2 separate regions of the Homo sapiens genome follow, and region 1 is linked to region 2. Evidence: promoter capture Hi-C in 16 types of primary human blood cells and fetal thymus (Javierre and others, 2016). All regions are on one chromosome and are shown on one strand. Each heading gives the region's core, a stretch centred on a gene start or on the middle of the fragment in contact. The rest is flanking DNA. Distances are from core to core; before and after follow the strand shown. Region 1 has its middle 170 kb from the start of VIPR2. Region 2 holds the start of VIPR2 (vasoactive intestinal peptide receptor 2).

Region 1 (5,764 bases), core at 2,127-4,626, 180 kb after region 2:
TCACAGGAAAAATGAGAGGAAAATCCATCCCCATGATCCAATCCCACCTCCCACCAGGTCCTTCCCCCAACATTGGGAATTATAATTCAACATGAGATTTGGGTGGGGACACAGAGCCAAATCATACCAATCATACTCTCACCTAAGTGAGAACCTGACAAAAAGGGTGTAATTCTTAAACAAAATTATGGGAGGCCATTGTTTTGAACTGAGCTCATACACTAGGCCCAACAGACCAGACCAAACCAAAATGGAGTCACTCATACTACATATGGCATAATTTAACTCAGACTTTAAGGAAAGAGATAGGTCCTAGAACTGATCAGGTTTTGTTTCTCTCCTGTAAACAGGAGAGTCCAGCGCAAGGAAGTACCCTCTGCTCTAACCCTTACCAAAAAAAATAACCTGATGTCCTTGTACCTACCTTACAAAACCCTCTGTTCTGCTATTATTCAGTGGATTTCAAGACCAAATCAGTACATTTACATTGATGATAGTGACGTCAATTACTAATGTTTTGGGCAATCTCTCAAAATCAAGGGGATGATCAAAAGGGGGAATTTGTTAAATTAAGCTTAGCCTAAAGCTGCCTCCTTATATATTTTAAGTTCACCCTTAAGGTTTCTATACACAGTAAACTGAAACCTAACTGGATATATAAACAGACTAGCCTATTTTTGTGCCAATCACCAAGTTTTGGCCAATTAAAGTGGGCCAACTGTTCAAATTGTGTTCAAATAAGGCAAACTCTAAGCTGTAATCAATCTGGCTGTTGCTGTACTTCACTTCTGTTTTCTGTCTGTCACCTTCCATTTTCTGCCCATAAATCTTCTTCTACCACATGGCTGTGCTGGAGTCTCTCTGAGCCTGCTGTGGTTTGGGAGGCTGCCTGATTCATGAATCATTCTTTGCTTAATTAAATTTTGTTAAATTAAATTTGTCTAAGGTTTTTCTTTTAACAAGTGCATACTCAGAAAGACATGAGAAAGCCTCAACTCTCATCTTGGGCTGACCTTAATATGTTGAGCAAACAGCAAGGGAAGGCTAAGGCAGAATTGTTCATTACCTACTAATGTTTGAAGTGTGCCCCATCACTCATACAGACCCCCTCAGCAAATAGTGAAAGACTTATTGGTTCCAAGCACTTAAGGAAATCACTATCCATTCATTATCTGACCTTTAAGCTAGCCAAGTAGAGACTTCAGTCCTCATATATGAAAGAGAATACAGACTTGGCAGAATTATTTCTTTAAAGTCAGTAAACAAACAATAAAAGCTACCAAAAAATGCCCCAGCAACAATAACAAACCCTGGGGAAGTTGCAAAATCTGATTCCTGGGGTTTTCACACTATAATATTTAAAATGTCAATTTTTAAGAAAAAATTGCAAGACGCAAAAAGAAACAAGAAAGTACAGCCCATATGCAGGAGGAAAAAGCAATCAATGGAAAGTGTCCCTGTGGAAGCTCACATGATGAACTTACTCATGAAAGACTTTAAACCAGATATTCCCAATCTACTCAAAGAAATTTTAAAAAATTCTTAAAGAACTGAAGGAAAGCATGAGAATAATGTCATACCAAATAGAAAATATAACACAATTGAAATTATTAAGAAACAGAAATTCTGGAGTGGAAAAGTACAATAACTAACTTGAGAAGTACAAGAGAAGTATAAACATCTTGCCTAAAACCTTTCCTCAAGCTTTGTCGCTTTGCCTCAAGCTCCACCAATCATTGTATTCTTCTTGAAGCAAAGCAACAATAGGTTGGAAGGGTTTTAGGCAGGATGTTTATCAGGCAGGAGCTCATTTATTGTGACATATTCCCTCTTTAAAAATGTAAATATTCTTGGGAAAGTTTAGCTTCTCATAATCCATCCAATCTTCTTGTGCATTAGTTCCATGTGACTAACAGACTGACTACCCTTAGAATGCAGGGTCTTGGTTGAGTGGCAGCTGTGGAGGAGAGTCAAGGGAAGGTTCACAGCCACTCTTGGCATTTACTCAGCATGGATACATGAGCTGCACTAAGGATTCTTCGTTTTGACATTTTAGCCAGAGCTGACTCTGCCCCACGCATCACACAAAGAAAATAGAAGGCACATAAAGAAGATTCTGAAGGCATTAATAAATGGAGCTCTAAGGTGTGAAATAGACACAGAGCAGCACCACTACTGCAAGCCAATGGAGACCAATGGAGAAGGAACACGTTTGACAAAGAGTACAAAAATAGATCCTGAGAGCTCAAATTTAACTCTATCAGCATTAAGTCAACACAACTAGAACAAACATTCATATTAGGTCCTGTTTCTCAAACATAAAACAAACATTTAAATTTCTCAGTTGGATTTGCCATGTATAGCCAGGAAAAGCAGGCCTGGTTCTGAGATCCAGGATGTAGCCAAAAGGTGACAAGAAATCATCTCAGGGAGTGGACTTTCTTTCCATCCCCGGTTCTTAGAGTTCCTAGGCATTGTAGATCAAGATAGCAAAATAAACTCAGTAAAATGTTCTCATGGAAAAAAGCCAAAGGCTAGCTCTGATAAGAGCCTGTTTAAGCACAAGAGGCAAATACCTGTGATCTAATTTGACTTCTCTGTAGAAAATCTCTTGCTAAAAGACACTAACATGTGGATGTTAAATGTTTGGCCCAATTCTGCCATTTGTTAGCTGTATGACCTATGCAGTCTACTTAACATTGTTGGGCATCTTTTTTTCTATCTGTACAAACAGGAATAATAATATCTGCCTCATAAGCTTCTCATGATAATTTCCTGATATATTACATAAGAAGCACTTAGTATAGGGCCTGACATGTAATTATACTCCGGGATTTGTATCTGTTGTTACTGTATTAACAATGATGCCTCTATCAGTTCTGCCTGAGTGCCTCAATATGCAACTCAGGAGAGCTATTTCTTTGGGGCTTAGACATTTGTCCCAGGAATTTTTCTTTCAAAACGTAAAAAAGTTTAGGAGGTGGTCATATATTAAGAGTTTCCATTAGTAATGCCTTTGTATTTGTTAATAGCCAGAAACTTGATCTCCAATTATTTAGCAAAAGACTGAGCTCTTGGAAAATGAAATGTGAGGTCAATATGCTTTTACTTGGTGGGGGGGTTAATTTTTTGCATCTGAAGCCATGTGGGAGACATGCCCTGATTGTGATCCCTTGAACAGTTAGGGGCCAGGTGGGAGTTTGGGATGTGGGAAGAGGACAGGGGTAAAAGTGGAGCCCCCAACACAGGAAGGAGGGGAGCACAGTGCAGCAGTGAGTCACTCTAGCCCCAGCACTGACTAGCATGTCCTAGCATGACTCCAGCACGCTGTCATTTGGAATAAATCTTGGATAGGATAAAACCTGAGTTTAATGAAATTATGGATTCTCAGAATTTTTAATCCGGAGGGTGCAAGAAATTACACAAACCAAGTGGTCAGGACCGTGAACAATAGCCACACTCAGAGAGCTGATCAGGGTCGGCAGAGAAACAGCCCGACATGACTGCTTGTGGTCTGTGACTCAACTGTATCATCTGGATTGACTTTCTAAATGTGAAGTTTCAGCCAGTCCCTAAAATCCACAGACAGACTAAAGTTCCAGCAGGTGACCCACACTGAACTCTGTGGTAACCAGTTTTAAACTGACAAACCAAAGACCTATTTGAACAAACCACTTTCCCTCATCATACCTCATGGGTTTGCTTTCAGGAGTGTGAGACCATGGTGGAGAGGTTGTCCTCACTGGGACCTGTCTCAGCATATACCTGTATACAGGTAAATCCCCAATGCTCTTAACTGAATGTCTCTGCATTATCTTGGAGGTTCTGCAGAAACCTCATTACCCATAGTCTAACTCTTCTGTACTGGGTTATGACTTCCCCACCTTCACTTGCAGTGAGCTTGGGCTAGCACTACTATGTTTCACAGGCTCTCTGCACTGAGATATCAATTTCTACACCTGCCATCATGTTAGAGATGTGCATAATGGAATTTAAAAGCTTTGTATTACCACTATTTAAAAACATATCTGGCTGGGCCTGGTGGCTCATGCCTGTAATCCCAGCACTGTGGCAGACCAAGGCAGGCAGATCACGTGAGGTCAGGAGTTCGAGACCAGCCTGACCAATATGGTGAAACCCTGTCTCTACTAAAAATACAAAAATTAGCCGGGCTTGGTGGTGGGTACCTGTAATCCCATCTACCTGGGAGGCTGAGGCGGGAGAATCGCTTGACCCTGGGAGGCAGAGGTTGCAGTGAGCTGAGATCATGCCACTGCACTCCAGCCTGGGTGACAGAGTGAGACTCCATCTCAAAAAAAAAAAAAGAAAAAAAATATATGTATATGTCAGAACACAGATATTCCTGAGAAGCAGCTACCTCCCATGACTCACTCTGTTTGGCATTGCTAATTATTCAGCTGACTCTTGCAAGAATGAGTTGTTGAGCTGAGGGCCAAGACCTTGAGAATAGAGCAGGGAAGAGGCTGGGAGAGCTGTGCAGCAGGGATGGAAGCCTGTTTGAGCAGAGCTGTTTCGCAGCATCTCCACCCATGGTTTTTGTTTTTCTCCATTTGAAAGGTCTTTTAAAGCACAGGTCTATGGACACACAAGGGAGGAATCTAATTTGATGGCATCACATGCACCACGCAAAAATCCATAGACCTTCTATGTCATTCCTTCAAACACTTCAGTCTGTCTCAATAGTTATGGTTCAAACAGGTAAAACAGAATTTGAGTTGCTTGGGCATTTCTTGCCTCCTTACTACATAAGATCAAGTGGGGAAGGTGAAAACCAGAACAAGTCACCCTGGGAGGCCCAAATGGGAAGTGTCAGTCATGCATTTGTGTATATTCAGTGTGAAGTGTAACCACCTGTCAGTCCACGTGACTGAAAATGTAGCTATGGGGGTTGCAAGGCTGGGTCAAATGGCCTGTGCTTTGACAGATTTGCACTGGGTTTCATTATTTACCATTATTAAAATAGACAATTATGGTGTTGGCTGTAAACAATAATCTATGACTGGCCATCACCTTAATGAAGATCAGAAAAGCATATCAACAAAAGTATAATACAACCAACAAACAACTAAGATGAATTTATAACTACAGTGAAGACATAATTACAAATTTTGAAATAGAGATGACTAAAACTGGAGTTTACTATGGTCTTTTTCCCAATAAATTATGTGGGTTTTTTTTCAGTCAAAGCTAATGGACATCAGGAATTGTGGGATATTCAGTGGCTGCACGTCAGGGAACCTGGGTCCCAGGTCCAGTTTTATCACTGACAAACTCTGTGAATTTGGCAAAGTTATCTGTGAAATAGTTGAACTGGATAGTCAACTATTAGTCATTAGTTCACTATCTTTTCACAACCAAAATAAAATGGGTTAACATAATTCTAAACAATTATATTTAAAATGAAAGATAAAAAGGAAAACAACAGGATTGTGGTTTTCAAACTCTTCCCTGAGAAACCATCAGGGCTCAGAGGAGTGAGGTAGCAGGACTCTAGGGTCCCAGCCCTTTTATATTTTCTTAAGTCTTATACATTGGGCTTCTCAATAATAGTTTGTCTAAAAACTCTAAGAATTTAAACTGAAAACAGCTGCGTTGGGTATTGCTGACAAATATGTCTTTTGTGTCCTATCTTTGCCTCCACTCTGTGCTTTCTTCACCTTAAAAAATATGAGTGCCACAGAACAAAAAAAAATTCAGGAAACAGGCAAATCTACATTTTCTGATTATTCCATAAACTTTACAA
Region 2 (5,798 bases), core at 2,604-5,103:
TGAAAACAGGAAGCTGGACAATTTGGAACTTGGAGGTGAGGAGGGCAACCCTAAAAGCCTGTCTCTCCTCAGGACTACCTTTCCTAACTCAGAACTTTCACTGGAAGAAGGACCTCCCATGGCCACGCTGCTGCTTCTGCCGTGGCAGACTGGCTGCCTCCTCCATCCACATCTCCTGGGCCGCATCAGCATTTCCCAGGACAGACTCTCAGCATGGCTTCAGCCAAGTTACTTTATTTGCCTTTCTCTGGACAGAGTTCAACCAGACAATCTGGAAGATGGGCCAGAACCATGCGTGCACCGCGGAATCGCAGATCTTTACAGCCGGAAGAAGCCTCGGAGGCAGAGCCTGCACGTTTCAGACCAAGAAACGGTGGCTCAGAGGGGGATGGGAACGGGCAGGGACACCTGTTTTAGTGACAATCTACAGCCCATTGTCCAGCGTGGAGACCGCTGGCCGCCTGTGGCTACTGGACCTTGAAATGGGGCCCAAACTGTGTCGTGCTGTAAGCACAAAAAACACACTGGACTTCTACAACTTAGCATCAAATAAGAATGCAAAATTAATAACTTCAGGTTGATTATACGTTGAAATGTTAACGATTCAGATTTATTCAGGTAAATAAAGGATACTATTAAAATTAATCTCTCATGCTTCTTTTTACTCATTGTAATGTGGCTTGCATTCTGTTGCTGCTGGGCAGGGCTATTCTTGAATAAAGCCCACCATCTGAGGCCCTCTACAGGACAACAGACTGTTTTAACACAGATTTAATTTCTTTCTTGAAGAGGAGAAAATCATGACAAAGAGCAGAGAAAGCTGAGGGACAAAGGCCTTGCTACTATTTATAGGCCGGGTGCTATCCCAGGGCAGAGTCTATAAACAGGTTGATAGCAGGCCCTGTTGGAGCATGATGGCCCAGCATGCCTCTGTCAAACCGGAGAAGGCGATCTGCACGTTCACAGTGTTCACCGCAGGCCCGTCTTCAGCACAACCAAAGTCCCATTTTCCTGTTTGCTTTCTGCCAAGTACCCACCATCCTTAACCAGATCAAAATCATCTGTCCTATAGCTAAGAATTTAAAATGCAAGAATTCAGATAAATGCTTATCCCCTGGAAAACTGAAGCTGCTTTTGCAAAGCATAACAAAGCCCATGAAATTGTTTTAGTAACTGTTGCTATCATCTCAAACCATGGAAACTGTTACTGCTAAGGATTAAGGTTATCTTTTTAAAGGTGTGTGTGAAGACCCTACCTATCCAACTCTCTCTGAGTTTTACCAGTAGTTCATTAACAAACAATGGGAAGTGGCCTTTCTTTTTCTTTTTTTTTTTTTAAGATGCAGGTGGTGACCCTGAACCACAGCTGAGTGAGGCGCATTCCCGGGTGAGAATGTCACGGGAGTTCTTACTCACCAAGCCTCTGCCTTACCTTTGTGTTTTTCTGTTTGAGACCTCAGAAGCTCTGCACATTTTGTTTCTTCCTCCTGTATTTCCAGATGAAATCGGCATTCTGGGTGAATGCTGTTCACCTGTTCACGGTTAAAAGAAATATTAATAACTAAAAATTCCACAAGAAGAAGAAAAGCAAGCAAAAATTCTACAAAAACAACCCCAAACCTCACAGCTTTAAACTGCTTCCAAACCAAAATGCATTTAAAACCAATCACCTTGATTTTTCTGGCATTTTTTAAAAACTTCACTATTTACTTTGTAAAGGTATTATAAAACAAACACAAAATCTAATAGAATTTTTTTTCTGAGCAGGAAAATGAACTTACTAACAGAATACATCGGTACTAATTTGGAGGCAACAGAGCTCTTTACTCCATTCATCTCTCCATACCCGGCTCCTCCGTTTCACACCCTTTGGTTTGGTTTAAGCGGATGCCTGTGGACTGTGCCGCTTCCTCCGAGGACGGCCTCCACCCGGGAAAGAGCCGTGATAGAAGGGCTTTATTTTTAAAGGTGTTGGTACATGTTCAAAGCTTAACCCTCTAACTACAGATAAAACTGCAATCGTTTTGACTAGAATTTGGGGTGGAAGAGATATTCAAAGAAATCAGCAAGATGAGGAGGGAGGCAGAGGTGGGGGAATCACACCATTGTGGCCCCACAGAGAAGAGGGGGCGATTTCCAGTCAGGATCCATCAGGGGAGCGAAAGGTGCCACAAAGATAGTAATTAACAGTCTACTAATGTGAGAAGAAGGCAGAACTACACAATGCTTCCTCTCAGAAGGCACCGTTTCTACCTTGTTCTTCACGCCCTCCGCGAAGTCAGCACAGGCCTGCCAAGCGGCCCTTGGGGGCTTAAGGAGGGCTCCCCCCACCCATCCTTTTGGTCTTGATCTTCCCCCTCCCCCACCACCGACCAAAATTCTACTTGTACTAAAGTAGTAACTAAAGAGAATCATACTGTTGGGCGTACTATGGCCATCTATGTTTAGTTATCTTACTATTGAAATGGTCAATGAGAGTTCCAACCAGGAACACAATATCCTAACAGAATTAAGGGGAAAACAATGCTGGAACTTCTGCCACCTTCAGCCCCATTTAAAAGAGCCCCGAGCTTGCTTCTTGCTCGTGACTGAACCAGCACCAGGCACTGACTTTGGGCTCCAAGTCCTCTGTTTTCATGCAGGACAAGTAAGTGGCTTAAATTTCAGAATTAAGGAAATTATATTGATGTAAAAAGAAAAACTTTGTTAAAGTGTAAAAGACATTAATAATACCTGACGTTCCTGGAATATGCACAGCAATGACTTCTTTTAGGACATTTTAGCAATGAAAGCAGCATTAACCGTGATAAAACCCGTTACTTTCCAAGGACCCGCTCCGCAAAGCGCCCACCCTCGAGGGAGGAAAGCCGAGCTGCGCCTCCGCGCAAGGCCAGGGAGTGTGGCTCGAGCCCCGCTGCAGACCGGGCGTCGCCGGTTAATCAATGACACTGTCGGGTCAGCAGCGCAGCCTCCCAGCTGCGGAGGGGCCGCGGATCGATCCAGACCTGCCTCGGCTGCGACGCGCACGAAAACCGCGCGCACCGCAAACCCGCTTCAGTCTCCAAGAGGAAAGCAAGAAACAAGGCTCGGGTTTTTTTCTTTCTTTTTTCTTTCCTTTTTTTTTAAGGTTCACAGAGGGAATAATTCAGAACTCCATGTGCGAAGGCACTTAATCAACAAACTTATGAGCAGTTAGTTCCTCCAGTGCCCTTGGGAAAAAGCAACTATTTCCAAAAGGAAACTTTATTTAACCGACGCCACGTCCCCCCGACACTAAAACTAACCAGTAAGTACAGGGAGGGACCGAGAGGCATCTGCGGCCAACGCCAACCCCGATCTCCCCGTGAAACGCGCAGCCCGCGCAGGCGCCCGCAGCTCCCAGCTCCCGGGACGGCCCCGAACGAGCTCATCGTTGACGCGTCCAGGAAGAAACGATCCCGTTTCCAGCAAACCCCGGACGGTGGGGCGCGGGGAAGGGCGCAGGCAGCCTCCCAACCCGAGTCCCGCAACCCGGCGGGACCGGAGCTCAGCGCTTCACGCTCTCCGGGAGGAAGCTCCGGACCCCGGGCGACCCCGCTCCCTCTCCCGGACCCCGCCCGCGCTCCAGCACCCGGGAGGAAGGCGAAGACCGGCGGGAGGAGCGCTCTTCTCGGAAGGGGAGAACCGGGTCCGAGGCGCCGTGGGGCGGGGGTCGCGGGCGCACTCACGGGGGCGAGCAGCCAGCAGGTCAGCAGCGCGGGAGGCAGCAGCGTCCGCATCCCGAGCTCAGCGTGCCGGGGGCCGCCCAGCGCCCGCCGCCTCCGTCCTAGGTCCCCGCGGTTCCGCCGCCTCCAGCATGGGCCGGGAGCGAGTGCGCGGAGACCTCGGGCCCCGCAGCTGTAGCCGAGCGCCCGAGCGCGGGGGCCGCCCCCTCCGTCCCGGCAGCTGGAGCGCGCTCAATGCACGCCCGTCCCCCACGCGCCCCGCCGCTCCGCCCCCCGCCCCTGTCCCCGCCCCGCGCTGCCCCAATCCTCGTCTCCCTCCTCCCCCGAGAACCCCCGCTCCGCGCCCCTCCTCACCGCCCCCCACTTCCCCTTCCGCTGCGCCCCGCGCCCTCTCCTCGCCCCTGGGCTCTCTGTCCCCGCCGCGCGCGCTCCCTCTGGTCTCCTCGACCCCCCCAGCCTCTCTCTCCGTTCTCCTCCCCTCTTCCCTGGCCCACGCCCCCCTCCCGGCCGCGCCTCCCCGATCTGTGGGCGGAGGGGCTGGGAAGCGGGGTGCTCAGTGCGCGCCCGGCTCCGAGTAGAGAGAACTGGGGGAGAGCGGCCGGCGCGGGGCCGGGAGAGGAGGACCGGGCCAGGTGTGCGCTCGGAAGGGGCGGATGCCTTTGCGGCCGCCTGTACCTGCCTTTCTAAACAACTGCGGAAGCCCAAGAAAGCGGCCAGAGACCCGTCCGGGGTGGGCGCGCCGTCTTTGTAGCCAGTGGGGCTAGGTTGGGGCATCTGAAAATGGAGAAAATCAGAGTGCTTTTTGGTGGGGATCCCCGCAGCCTCAAAGAGGACATCAGGTCGAACAGAAAGCTGGAGAAAAACGCAGACGGGGGTATAGGTGGGTCCCAGCCTCAGCTGGGTGGCGGGTTTTGTGTCCTGCGTTTGCAAAACGGGGGTCATTCTCTCCCCGCAAACGCGGCGGCGGGTGGGGAACGCTGGGCGGGGACTCACGCGGTGCCACTGGGGCCGCCCCGCCGCGCCCCACGCGGGACTGCGCGGCCTCCCAAGGCGCCCGCGTGACCAACCCAGGAGAGCTCGGCGTTCCCCAGCAAGTGGAAAGCACTGGAATGAGAGATACAAGTTAAGTTCGTGTTGTTTTAATTTTTTATTTGGAAATAATTTCAAACTTACACAAAAATTAGAAGAATAAGAATATTACAAATAACTCCTTTTTATCCTTTTTGTGGATTCGGTCATTAACATTTACCTCATTGGGCTTATCATTTGCTTCTCTCTGATCCCCCACCCCCCGTATTCACAGATATCGATTTTTCTATCATCTGATGTTTATCATCCACATTATCTATCATCTACCTATCCATCATCTACGTATCATCTATCGATCTGTCATGTACCTATCATCTATCATCTTCCTATCGATCATCTATCTGTAATCTGTCATCTATTATCTGTCATCTATCATCTACCTGTCCATCATCTACCTTTCATCTATCCATCTGTCAGGTATCTATCATCATGCGCCTATCATCTATCATCCACCTTTCCTCTATCACCTACCTGTCATCTATTATCTATGATCTATCCATCTATTATGTACCTATCATCTATCATTTGCCTATCTTTCATCTGTAATTTACCTATCTATAACCTGTCATCTACCTATTTATCATCTATCATCTGCTGTCATTTATGATCTATCCATCTATCATGTACCTATCATCTCTGTATCATGTATCAATCAGCTATCATCTACCTATCATCTCTCTGCGATCTATTACCTATCTATTACCTACCATCTACCTATTTATCATCTATCATCTACCTCTCTGTCATTTATCTATGATCTGTCATGTACCTATCATCTATTATCTTCCTATCGATCGTCTATCTGTAATCTATCATCTATTATCTGTCATCTATCATCTGCCTATCCATCATCTGTGATCCGGCATATCTGTGATCTACCTGGCTGTCATCTATCAATCACCTATCATCTGCCTATCTGTCATCTGGCTGGCATCTATCAATCACCTATCATCTGCCTATCTGTCATCTGCCTGTCATCTATCAATCTATCATCTGCCTATCTGT

Evidence for each region. Contacts are between HindIII fragments. The CHiCAGO score rates a contact against its expected background, and 5 or more counts as called.
Region 1: a contact is called between a fragment that was not itself captured here and the fragment with the promoter of VIPR2 in region 2, in 1 of 17 cell types (total CD8 T cells). The highest score is 5.0, in total CD8 T cells.

The regions. Positions count from the first base shown.
Region 1 is chr7:159,316,646-159,322,409 of GRCh38, forward strand. No RefSeq gene overlaps it. Among named protein-coding and RNA genes, the nearest start is that of VIPR2, 170 kb to the left of the region's middle. The HindIII fragment of the contact is 1,241 bases long and covers 2,757-3,997 here.
Region 2 is chr7:159,141,014-159,146,811 of GRCh38, forward strand. VIPR2 (vasoactive intestinal peptide receptor 2) reads right to left here and starts at 3,854. Exons shown (of 13, transcript NM_003382.5): 1 at 3,708-3,854; 2 at 1,433-1,532. The coding sequence starts at 3,758. RefSeq lists an enhancer at 5,652-5,798. The HindIII fragment of the contact is 10,716 bases long and covers 1,987-5,798 here.